Regions from separate parts of the Homo sapiens genome. Here region 2 is linked to region 1. The links are contacts of gene promoters, found by promoter capture Hi-C in blood cells and fetal thymus (Javierre and others, 2016). All regions are on one chromosome and are shown on one strand. The core of a region is centred on a gene start or on the middle of the fragment in contact, and the rest is flanking DNA. Distances in the headings are between cores, read along the strand shown. Region 1 holds the start of GDF9 (growth differentiation factor 9). Region 2 overlaps SLC22A5 (solute carrier family 22 member 5).

What was found. The method cuts DNA at HindIII sites, captures the fragments that hold promoters and counts their contacts. A CHiCAGO score of 5 or more calls a contact.
Region 2: a contact is called between a fragment that was not itself captured here and the fragment with the promoter of GDF9 in region 1, in 2 of 17 cell types (total B cells and naive B cells). The highest score is 7.3, in total B cells.

What each region holds. Positions count from the first base shown.
Region 1 is chr5:132,863,724-132,869,001 of GRCh38, forward strand. It overlaps GDF9 (growth differentiation factor 9), which reads right to left and starts at 2,746. Exons shown (of 2, transcript NM_005260.7): 1 at 414-2,746. The coding sequence starts at 810. UQCRQ (ubiquinol-cytochrome c reductase complex III subunit VII) reads left to right here and starts at 2,919. Exons shown (of 3, transcript NM_014402.5): 1 at 2,919-2,964; 2 at 3,146-3,312; 3 at 3,765-5,124. The coding sequence starts at 3,159. The coding sequence ends at 3,859. RefSeq lists enhancers at 2,198-3,397, 2,256-2,756, 2,757-3,257. The HindIII fragment of the contact is 4,688 bases long and covers 118-4,805 here.
Region 2 is chr5:132,391,191-132,396,468 of GRCh38, forward strand. SLC22A5 (solute carrier family 22 member 5) reads left to right here. Exons shown (of 10, transcript NM_003060.4): 8 at 1,243-1,425; 9 at 2,486-2,621; 10 at 2,995-4,422. The coding sequence ends at 3,082. Among named protein-coding and RNA genes, the nearest start is that of CARINH, 17 kb to the right of the region's middle. The HindIII fragment of the contact is 5,582 bases long and covers 1-4,824 here.

The sequences.
Region 1 (5,278 bases), core at 1,496-3,995:
AAAACGGGAACTTTAAGCTTTTCTCTCACAGAAAGTAACAAACAAGAGAAAAATATCCTATTTAACACATCACACCAATAGCTGTAAGAGATGTTTAAGGTCCATTTCTGGGCCAAAAGCTTGGTGGAACAGAAAGAGGTGCTAACATTCTCTAGCAGCACTTCCGCTCAGCCTTGAAAGCCATTAAGTCTCTGGTGTTGCTTTAAAATTCCATCATATTAGCCCACCTTAACCAATGAGAGCGTTAGGAATAAACAATAAGCTCAAGTCCCAGATTTGTTTCAACTGGATATTGAGTTTTATGCAAAATAAAATACAATTCAAGGAACTAGGCTCAGCTCCTTTCTGTAATTGAAATGCAGAAGTGTCTATCATCTTCCCTCCACCCAGTTAACCAATCTGCTTTCACATACCTGTTACCTGGTCTCCAGGAGCCTGCTTGTGCCGGGTACAGGGGGTGAAGAGCCGAACAGTGTTGTAGAGGTGACTTCTATTGGATTTAGGAATCCCTTCCTTGGTAGCATATGTCTTATAGAGCTTCTTCATGTAGTGCAAAGCTCTGGAGTCTGGCTGCAGCCTAGGTGACCCACCTCGCCCAACAGATAGAACTTTGAAAAGCGCGGGAAGGAGGCCAGCTCTGTCTCTCTCATCTATATGCTGCAGCAAGGACCAAGGCATAGCCCCAGATTCCAACTCAGCACTAGCAGCAATCTGAGCTTCTCCCCCAGAAGCCTGAGAACCAAGGCTAATAGGAAAACACAGCCAGGCAAAGCAGCAAAACCAAAGGAGGAATTTGTTGGGACGTGCCATGGCTTGGGAGAACTAGTGAGGAACATATTTCTCCATGCCAGTCCTCTTCCTAAAGGCCAGGAAGAGCCTAGCTTGGTCTCTTAAATAAATTTCAGGTGTGTGGGTGGACTACGGTCACTTCTGTAATCAGGCCTCAAGTATGCCTAGCTGAAGATTTTATCAGCTCTATATCAAGCAGCTGATAACACCTTATTTAGCCAATTTGTTAATTAGATACAGATTTACTTGGTTATTTAGCTTTCCTCTCTTTTCCCCTGGCATTTACGTAAAACCCGTTACTGTTACACTACCGGACTAACTATGTAGCTGAAAGTCTAAGATAAATTGAGGAATGATCTTAAATAAAATCTCTCATTTTTTGAGAAATTTGGATTAAGATGTTCGCTAGGTGCTTGCTGAAACTTCTAAGGCATGTGGAAAAGCTAACCAATTATTCATGACGATACTCAGATCTGCTGGTATGCAACTTATGGTATTAGGTTTACTCTTCCTCTCAATTTATCCTCACGGCCTTTTCCACTTCCAGGTGTTTACAATTGTAATTATTCGCTGCATGTTAATTTGCGAATTTACAAATTTGGGTGAGAAAGTCACAATTGGCATAGAAGTTCCAGAAAGCAGAAAACCATTAGGTCTCTCAGTCCTCCCAGGTGGCTGGGTACAGAATACGTACTTGGAGTACTGGAATTGTATTTGCGATGTTCTTAAAAGAGGACACCGCCTTTAACCTTGACTTATTTTTAAATGTAACATACTGATGTCCTTACTTTGGTCTGCACACTCATCTATACATATTTTGGTTGAAAGGTTTTGGGATGTTTGCAGATGCTATAAAATAAATGAACGTTTTATTATTATTCATCCAAATGGTGGTAGAATTTGCCACAATATTTCTGTCCTTACCTGTATTTCTGTTCTTGCCTTGGAGCTGAGACCAGGCTAGACATTATGGTTTAAAAAAATGAGGCAAAGGAGCACCATGAAAAGCTGAAATGAGGGGATATTCAGCGCCACCCCGAAGGAGACTATGCTGGAAGAGTCAGCCTACACTCATAGTGCAAGATACGAAGCCAGTTTGTGCAGTACCTACATGAGAAAACTAAGGTATGTCTGCAAAATACAAGTTGACTGCCTGCCGAGCCTCCGTGGTCCGTAAGTAGTGTTATAAAACACAGCCAACTGTTGAATGAGAGCTTAGTCCTAGATAAAATATGGCCAGCAATTCCATTAACAAAACACTGACAAGACACCTCAGGGCGAGCTGTACATTGACAACAGCATCGTCAAGCAGAATGCACTTCAGGGAAAACATAATAAGGCCTCTCACCCGACTTTCCTTGCTTCTCACGTGGGGAGAAGAAAGAACTGGGGCATCGTGATTCCCCCCACCCCACGCAAACCATCTGGGGAGGACGCTGGCTGCTGTCGAGGCGGCCTCAGCATTCATCAATTGACGATTATTTGATTATTTTTGTGGCTGAAACTGACGAAACGTTTGTATTATCTCTTGGGAACGTTAACAGCCTGCCAGGGGACTCTAAAACAGAGTCCAAGAGAAGCCTTCGATGTGTGTCCCTGATTTTGGTGCTGGGGTCGCTCATGGCCTGAAAATAACGAAGCCCCCTTTGAGCTACTGGCCAAGGCCAAATGAAACCTCGTGCTCCTCTGCTGTGGGGCGGCCCGGCCTCGGGGCTCAGAGGCGCTCTGTCTACAGCTGGGAAGACTCGCAGGCCCCAAGCTCCTGGCCAGCGCTGCCCCGGAGGTCGGCAGGCCCCTTCCTCGTCACCTTTTTGTTCCCTCCCCCGCCTCCCGCATTCGGCCGCTTCCTGACTGGGATTCCACAGAAAAGCCGAGGGCTGAGGAGAAGTGTGAGCGCCTCCGCCTGTCCACTGTCCCCCAAAGTCAGTTCAATCCCCGACGTCCTCCGCTAGGCTCCACCCCACCGGCCCGGGCAGGGCCTCCAAGGCACCTCCCACCTACGGGTCACCCAGTCAGCCCACTTCTTTCTGGGACAAAGGCGTCATCCCTTAGAGACAGTAGGAAAATGGTATCTCCCGGAAGTTACCTCACGACCTCCAAGAGCGGCTTCCAACCTTGCCGGAAATGACGAACGAGTCAACCGGATCGGTGACTGTGGAGGGCGAGCTGAGCCCTGTGCGTGAGTGGGGTCTGGTTGTGCAGTGTTCGTGGACCCTGGGAGGCTAGGGGCGCCCCGCTGGGCTGGGAAAGGATAAGGAGTGCAGGGGCAGGAGTCTGGGGTTGGGGATGGACCCCCGCGGGGACTGCGGCGCTTCGCGAAAGCGAGCCAAGCGCCTGTCCACCCTCGGTCCTGCAGGGCCGCCGCCACAATGGGCCGCGAGTTTGGGAATCTGACGCGGATGCGGCATGTGATCAGCTACAGCTTGTCACCGTTCGAGCAGCGCGCCTATCCGCACGTCTTCACTAAAGGAATCCCCAATGTTCTGCGCCGCATTCGGGAGTCTTTCTTTCGCGTGGTGCCGCGTGAGTGCCTTGGGCCCGCGGGAGCGGGAGGCTGGACCCCAGCAGCAGCAGCAGTCACTGCGCCTCCCCTCTGAGCGCTGGCGGCCGGGCAGGCGCTCTGTAACTTGCCGTACACACCTTTCTCATTGAATATTCCTGACCGCCCTTAAGCTGGTCATATTATCCTCCCCATCTTACACGGGGAAAACTGAGCTACAGAACTGAAATGACTGGCCCAAGGTCACTCGGGTGATTCCAGCATGTTCCTCTGAGGTCACCTTTATTTAGTTCTTACCAGTGGTGAAATGCTTTGTGTTAAACGTGCAGCAGATAGTGATGATAGTTGCATGGCCTTGGATATGCTAAGAACTACTGAAGTGTATGCTTTAAAGAAGACAAGAGGACTGAGACCTTTTTTTTTCTTCTATATGTCTTATATGTGTGCTCTCTGTTTACTCTCTTAATTTTTAAAGAGTTTGTAGTGTTTTATCTTATCTACACATGGGGGACTGAAGAGTTCGAGAGATCCAAGAGGAAGAATCCAGCTGCCTATGAAAATGACAAATGAGCAACGCATCCGGATGACGGTTCCCTGTCTCTGAAAGACCTTTCTCTGGAAGAGGAGTCTGCATTGTAGTGTCTCAAAGACACAATAAACTTCCTATGGTCTGCACTGTTGTGATATTACATTTTTGTGAGTAGAATCCTGTGTGACCACTAATATTCAAGTTCATGAAGCGCCCCTCCTCAGCATGAGTCTTGAAGTTTTGCCTGGTCTCGGGTTTTGGTGAAAGAGCAGGGCTCCCCCTTTGTTCCATTATCTACAAGAAAGTAGCTGCAGGTACTCCTGCATCTAACCATTTGTGGGTGACATGGGCTATGGCGAGTGCTGGTTCTTGGCCCTCTGCTCCCATAGCAACAATAAAGTCTACTAACTATATTGTAATTAGTATGTGTCAGGGACGCTTTTATTTTTTATTTTTTGAGATGGAGTCTTGCTCTCTCACCCAGGCTGGAGTGCAGTGGTGTGATCTCGGCTCACTGCCATCTGTGCCTCCTGGGTTCAAACGATTCTCCTGTCTCAGCCTCCGAGTAGCTGGGATTACAGGTGCAGGACACCACACCTGGCTAATTTTTTGTATTTTTAGTAGAGACAGGTTTCACCATGTTGGCCAGGCTGGTCTGGAACTCCTGACCTCAGATGATCTGTGCGCCTCAGCCTCCCAAAGTGCTGGGATTACAGGCGTAAGCCATGGTGCTCTGGGCCTCAAATACTCTTCTTAGCTACACAAATGAACTGTTAAACCTCACAAGCACCTTTAACGTATCCTCATTTGGCAGATGAGGAAATGGGCACAGAGAGATTAAGTAATTTGCCAGAAATTATACAGCAGTGAATGGTGGAGTCTTGCACTAAAGTGATGCTCTTAAAACTATGCTCTATTGCAGGGGTGTCCAATCTTTTAGCTTCCCTGGGCCACACATAAAATACGCTAACATTACAATAGCTGATAAGCTTTAAAAAATGGCAAAAAAAACCCTCAGCGTTTTAGAAAGTTTACAAATTTTTGTTGGGTCGGATTCAAAGCCATCCTGGGCTGCTTGCTGCCCAGGACTGCGGTTGGACAAGCTTGCTCTACTGCCTTTCCTCCTAAGGCAGGCCTTAGCCTGAGGGGATATCAGCTATAAAACGGATGAGGTGATCTCTTAGCCTCCACAGCAGTTTTCTGTTTCTGTGCCAGGAGGCCAACAATGTTTTCAACCATATGTGGTTCATAAAGCCTCAAAGATTTACTCTGGCCCTTTATGAATAAAGTTTACCCCTGATCTAAAGCCTTTAAATTATCTTTTTGGTATTAAAGATACCATTTTCCCTTCGCCCACCGAGAGATGGTGGGGGTAGGTGTGGTTGGCAGTTTTATGCCTCTAGTTCCTTAGAGAGGCTTCTCTCTAAGCTTCGGGACATGGATCTCACCTGTGGTAGCAG
Region 2 (5,278 bases), core at 784-3,283, 470 kb before region 1:
ATAGCTATCCCATTCCTTTTTTTCCTGGCCCTGTCTTCTTTATTTATTCAACAAATAGCTATGGCATGCCTACCATGGGCTGGGCACTGTGCTCGGTGATAACGATACACAAGAAAACAAGCCAGGCAGAACCCCAGGCCCTCATGGAACGTACACCCTAGATGAGAAGACAGACAACAAACAAGTAAATAAAATGCTTAATATAGTTCAGACTGTGTTACCTTCTAGGAATACAAATGAAGGACAATGCCGAGTTAGTTTACATAGTCACAGATAGTGTCCCTGAACAGGGGGCAGTTCAGTAGAAATGTACATAAAGTGACAGAAAGCCCTGAAAAAGTCTAGGAGAACATTTTAGGAAGAAGAAATGGCAAAGGCAGCGACCCTGAGCAGGGGATGAGCCTGGCATGTTTGAGGAGGAGGGAGAAGGGGAGGGGCCAGACCACTGAGAGGGCCTCACAGAGCCTTAGCAGGATTTTATTTCTGAAACTATCTTAGTATCCCACAGATGGGTGGGAGGTAGCCATTTCCAATAATTTATAGAACAGTTCATGGGCCCTCATCTCTCCCTCTCCATCACTGTGCCCAGAGACTTCAGTGTACCTGTAGATTTGGGAGCCTCTGATGGTCACTTTTGGGCCCATCAGGCTGAGAACACTGCACGGGAACAGCTCCCCATGGGATGTGGCAGGAGGAGCCCAGAACTGATGTAGAGGCTCACAGCTGAGCTCAGAGTGACCTTCAGGTCACACATAGCTCTCCCATCAGCACAGCACAGAGAGATTAGAAGATCAACTTGAGATTCTGATGGCCTATGATTTTTTTGAGGTCTGAGTGGGAGGAAAGCATGAAATGAGTTAGAACTGAATTCTCCATTCATCTAAACATCATGAGTTAATTCCATAGTGCCTGCAGTGTGAGGTTCTGGGGTGACAGTTAATCCCTGACAGACATGTCTTTAATGACTTATAGACTGGGAAGCAGGTTGATTGGACTATTAAGGAGCTTACTCTGGTGGTCTCCAGGTTGAGGAAAGTGCATGTCCTTATAGCTGCAGGTCCCAGCCTCCTTTCAGCAATCAATTTGGAGGGAAATCTTGGCTATAGCCCCTTCCCCCACAATAGGAAGTGATAGAAACTGACTCCCCAAAAAATTTGGGAAGAAAGTATGTTTGTTTTGCTCTCAATAGCTGCATGCCATGGGTTGGTACCTACTCCTACCCTCTTTCCTTTGCTTCTCCAGACTTGTATTATTTGGCTACAGTCCTGGTGATGGTGGGCAAGTTTGGAGTCACGGCTGCCTTTTCCATGGTCTACGTGTACACAGCCGAGCTGTATCCCACAGTGGTGAGAAACATGGGTGTGGGAGTCAGCTCCACAGCATCCCGCCTGGGCAGCATCCTGTCTCCCTACTTCGTTTACCTTGGTAAGTCCCATGAGCCAAGGGCACACTAGAGCAACGGGATGGAAGTACTAACTGGCTTGAATGTGAGCTGGAGGTTGCGTGTTAACAGGAAAACAAGTTCATACAGTACATGGGCTCCATCCAGTACTGGATCTTTGGCCGGGAAGGGTTCTTGTCCCAGTGCACTGGCCCTCACTTTCAAATGGAAAACAACCTATAGATTACCTAGAAATTGATGAGAATATTAGAGGGTTTGTTTCTGTTTTAGCCATCCCAGGCCTTCCATCAGAGACTACAATTCCTTTATCCTAAGAACCTACAGAGTGGTTTAGGGAGCCAGTGTGCTTAGTTGGAGAAATTTCTTGGAATCAGAGTTTAAAAGGAACATGAGGGGAAAGATGTCCATGCAAGAGGTCTGATGAACGGAAAATTATTATAACCTAGAGCACTATAGAGTGATTTTATCTTGTGTGAAGATCCACCCCATGCCATTTTATGTAGCAGGTCTCCAGTTTTCTCTTCTCAGAATTATGTCTTCATAGCACCTGTGGTTTCCTGCACATCCCTAGCCAGTACCTCTTTAGGGAGGGTGGCACCCACCTGAGAGTACTCAGAGTGCTTTGTGAACATGCTATGTAGATCTCAAAGCAAGCAAAAGCACCCTGCCTAATCTGAAGGCAGATCACATGGGCTGGGACACATCTGCAGAGGTGGAAGAGTTATTTCCATCCCTGGACAAGTACCTCAGGTTCCTTGGAAACCCAACCTTGGTAAATAAGAATAATCAGCATGGCCCAGAAATAGGAATAATCAGCATGGCCCAGCTCTTCTACTGCAACCGCCCCTTTGTACTCCTCCCCTGCATGGTGGAACACTGCTGGGCTCTGGGCATGCCTGTGCCAGCTCTGGGTTCTGAAACCTGTCTAGATGCCAGATTCTAATCTGACTGCTCAGACTGTGAGAGATGTGAGACCAAGAAGGAAAGTGATCCCCTTCCAGAGTCCTGGGAGCATAAAGGGGTAGATGAGAGACCAAGTCTAACTGCAGCCCTGGGCCTGAGGCTCCGTCTGCTTTGCCATAGGTGCCTACGACCGCTTCCTGCCCTACATTCTCATGGGAAGTCTGACCATCCTGACAGCCATCCTCACCTTGTTTCTCCCAGAGAGCTTCGGTACCCCACTCCCAGACACCATTGACCAGATGCTAAGAGTCAAAGGGTAAGAAGACCTCCTCTGTCAGTGTTGATGCACTGGGTCTGGGTCTGGCCAGGTCTCAGGAGCCCCTCACAATAGAGCTACTCGCAAACTCCCTCTCACAGACACCATGGACTAGTTTAGCCATTAAAGGGTTGTAAATGGCAAGGTGCTTACTTATAGCCCATCCTCTCTGGTCTGTTCCTGTGTGGACATGTCACTATACACATCTCCATGGCAGTAGCCGCACTGGATAACTCAGAGGCTAGAAGAAACCTTTCAGAATCTGCTGCAGGATTCTCTTCCCAGGGAAGATATCCTCAGTTCTTGTTTGTTTGGAGACTGGGAGGCATCTTTTTAAAATGTGTTACTGACATATTTTTGCTTGTTTTTATAGAATGAAACACAGAAAAACTCCAAGTCACACAAGGATGTTAAAAGATGGTCAAGAAAGGCCCACAATCCTTAAAAGCACAGCCTTCTAACATCGCTTCCAGTAAGGGAGAAACTGAAGAGGAAAGACTGTCTTGCCAGAAATGGCCAGCTTGTGCAGACTCCGAGTCCTTCAGTGACAAAAGGCCTTTGCTGTTTGTCCTCTTGACCTGTGTCTGACTTGCTCCTGGATGGGCACCCACACTCAGAGGCTACATATGGCCCTAGAGCACCACCTTCCTCTAGGGACACTGGGGCTACCTACAGACAACTTCATCTAAGTCCTAACTATTACAATGATGGACTCAGCACCTCCAAAGCAGTTAATTTTTCACTAGAACCAGTGAGATCTGGAGGAATGTGAGAAGCATATGCTAAATGTACATTTTAATTTTAGACTACTTGAAAAGGCCCCTAATAAGGCTAGAGGTCTAAGTCCCCCACCCCTTTCCCCACTCCCCTCTAGTGGTGAACTTTAGAGGAAAAGGAAGTAATTGCACAAGGAGTTTGATTCTTACCTTTTCTCAGTTACAGAGGACATTAACTGGATCATTGCTTCCCCAGGGCAGGAGAGCGCAGAGCTAGGGAAAGTGAAAGGTAATGAAGATGGAGCAGAATGAGCAGATGCAGATCACCAGCAAAGTGCACTGATGTGTGAGCTCTTAAGACCACTCAGCATGACGACTGAGTAGACTTGTTTACATCTGATCAAAGCACTGGGCTTGTCCAGGCTCATAATAAATGCTCCATTGAATCTACTATTCTTGTTTTCCACTGCTGTGGAAACCTCCTTGCTACTATAGCGTCTTATGTATGGTTTAAAGGAAATTTATCAGGTGAGAGAGATGAGCAACGTTGTCTTTTCTCTCAAAGCTGTAATGTGGGTTTTGTTTTATTGTTTATTTGTTTGTTGTTGTATCCTTTTCTCCTTGTTATTTGCCCTTCAGAATGCACTTGGGAAAGGCTGGTTCCTTAGCCTCCTGGTTTGTGTCTTTTTTTTTTTTTTTTTAAAACAGAATCACTCTGGCAATTGTCTGCAGCTGCCACTGGTGCAAGGCCTTACCAGCCCTAGCCTCTAGCACTTCTCTAAGTGCCAAAAACAGTGTCATTGTGTGTGTTCCTTTCTTGATACTTAGTCATGGGAGGATATTACAAAAAAGAAATTTAAATTGTGTTCATAGTCTTTCAGAGTAGCTCACTTTAGTCCTGTAACTTTATTGGGTGATATTTTGTGTTCAGTGTAATTGTCTTCTCTTTGCTGATTATGTTACCATGGTACTCCTAAAGCATATGCCTCACCTGGTTAAAAAAGAACAAACATGTTTTTGTGAAAGCTACTGAAGTGCCTTGGGAAATGAGAAAGTTTTAATAAGTAAAATGATTTTTTAAATAACAGCAACTGCCTAGAATCTTTATTTCTAGAATTTAGTGAGCCTGTGCCACACTGTCATCTGCCTTTTCTCTGTATCAGCTTGGGCTAATTCTAGCAATGGTTGGGATTAATCTCTAAGACTAAGATTTGATTCTTGTGCACTAGAATTCTTCACTTTATTAATTGACTATGGGCTGAGCCAGCCTTCTTGCACAAATGTATCTTGGGTTCCCTTGAAAGTAGAGACTGAGACAAGTGCTTCTGTGCAGTTAAGCAGTTTATGCTTTGGGGACAAGATTCCAGGGAGCAGCAATAAAGGACAGGAGGAGAACAGGGAAGGAGGGAGGCTGAATACAAAGATGCATTTTCAGGTTGACTAGCACCAAAGGCAGGGATGCTCCATCCAGCAAGGACTTCAGAAGAAGCTTATGAAATGCATCTCAACACCATCTGTACCTTGAGTAAAAGGGGGAAGCATTTCTCTGTTGGCATCCATTTGTAAAGGCAGCCCACAGGTGTCAGCTCCACATGTTTCCAGGCTGCACATGCATGAGTCCCAAATAAGTTCTGTCCCGTGGGTAGAAAGCAAGAGAGAATACATTGCAGGGCTGAAGTAGGGGTTGCCAGAGCCCATCAGAACTGGTCACTGCAACAGTGGCTGGAGTAAGTGGTGGGCTGAGAGGATTGGGGGTTGAGTGTGGTGCACAAGAGGTGTCTTAATCTATATACAATTTGCACAGGGCATTTTGGGCTAGAAGGTGTGGATGGACCTGGGTAAAAAGCTCCAGTGTTGGATAGAAACTCAAGGGCATGTTGCATAACAAAACAAGCAGCATCAAACTTGGGGGAGAAGGAAGGCAGCACGTCTTCTGGAACA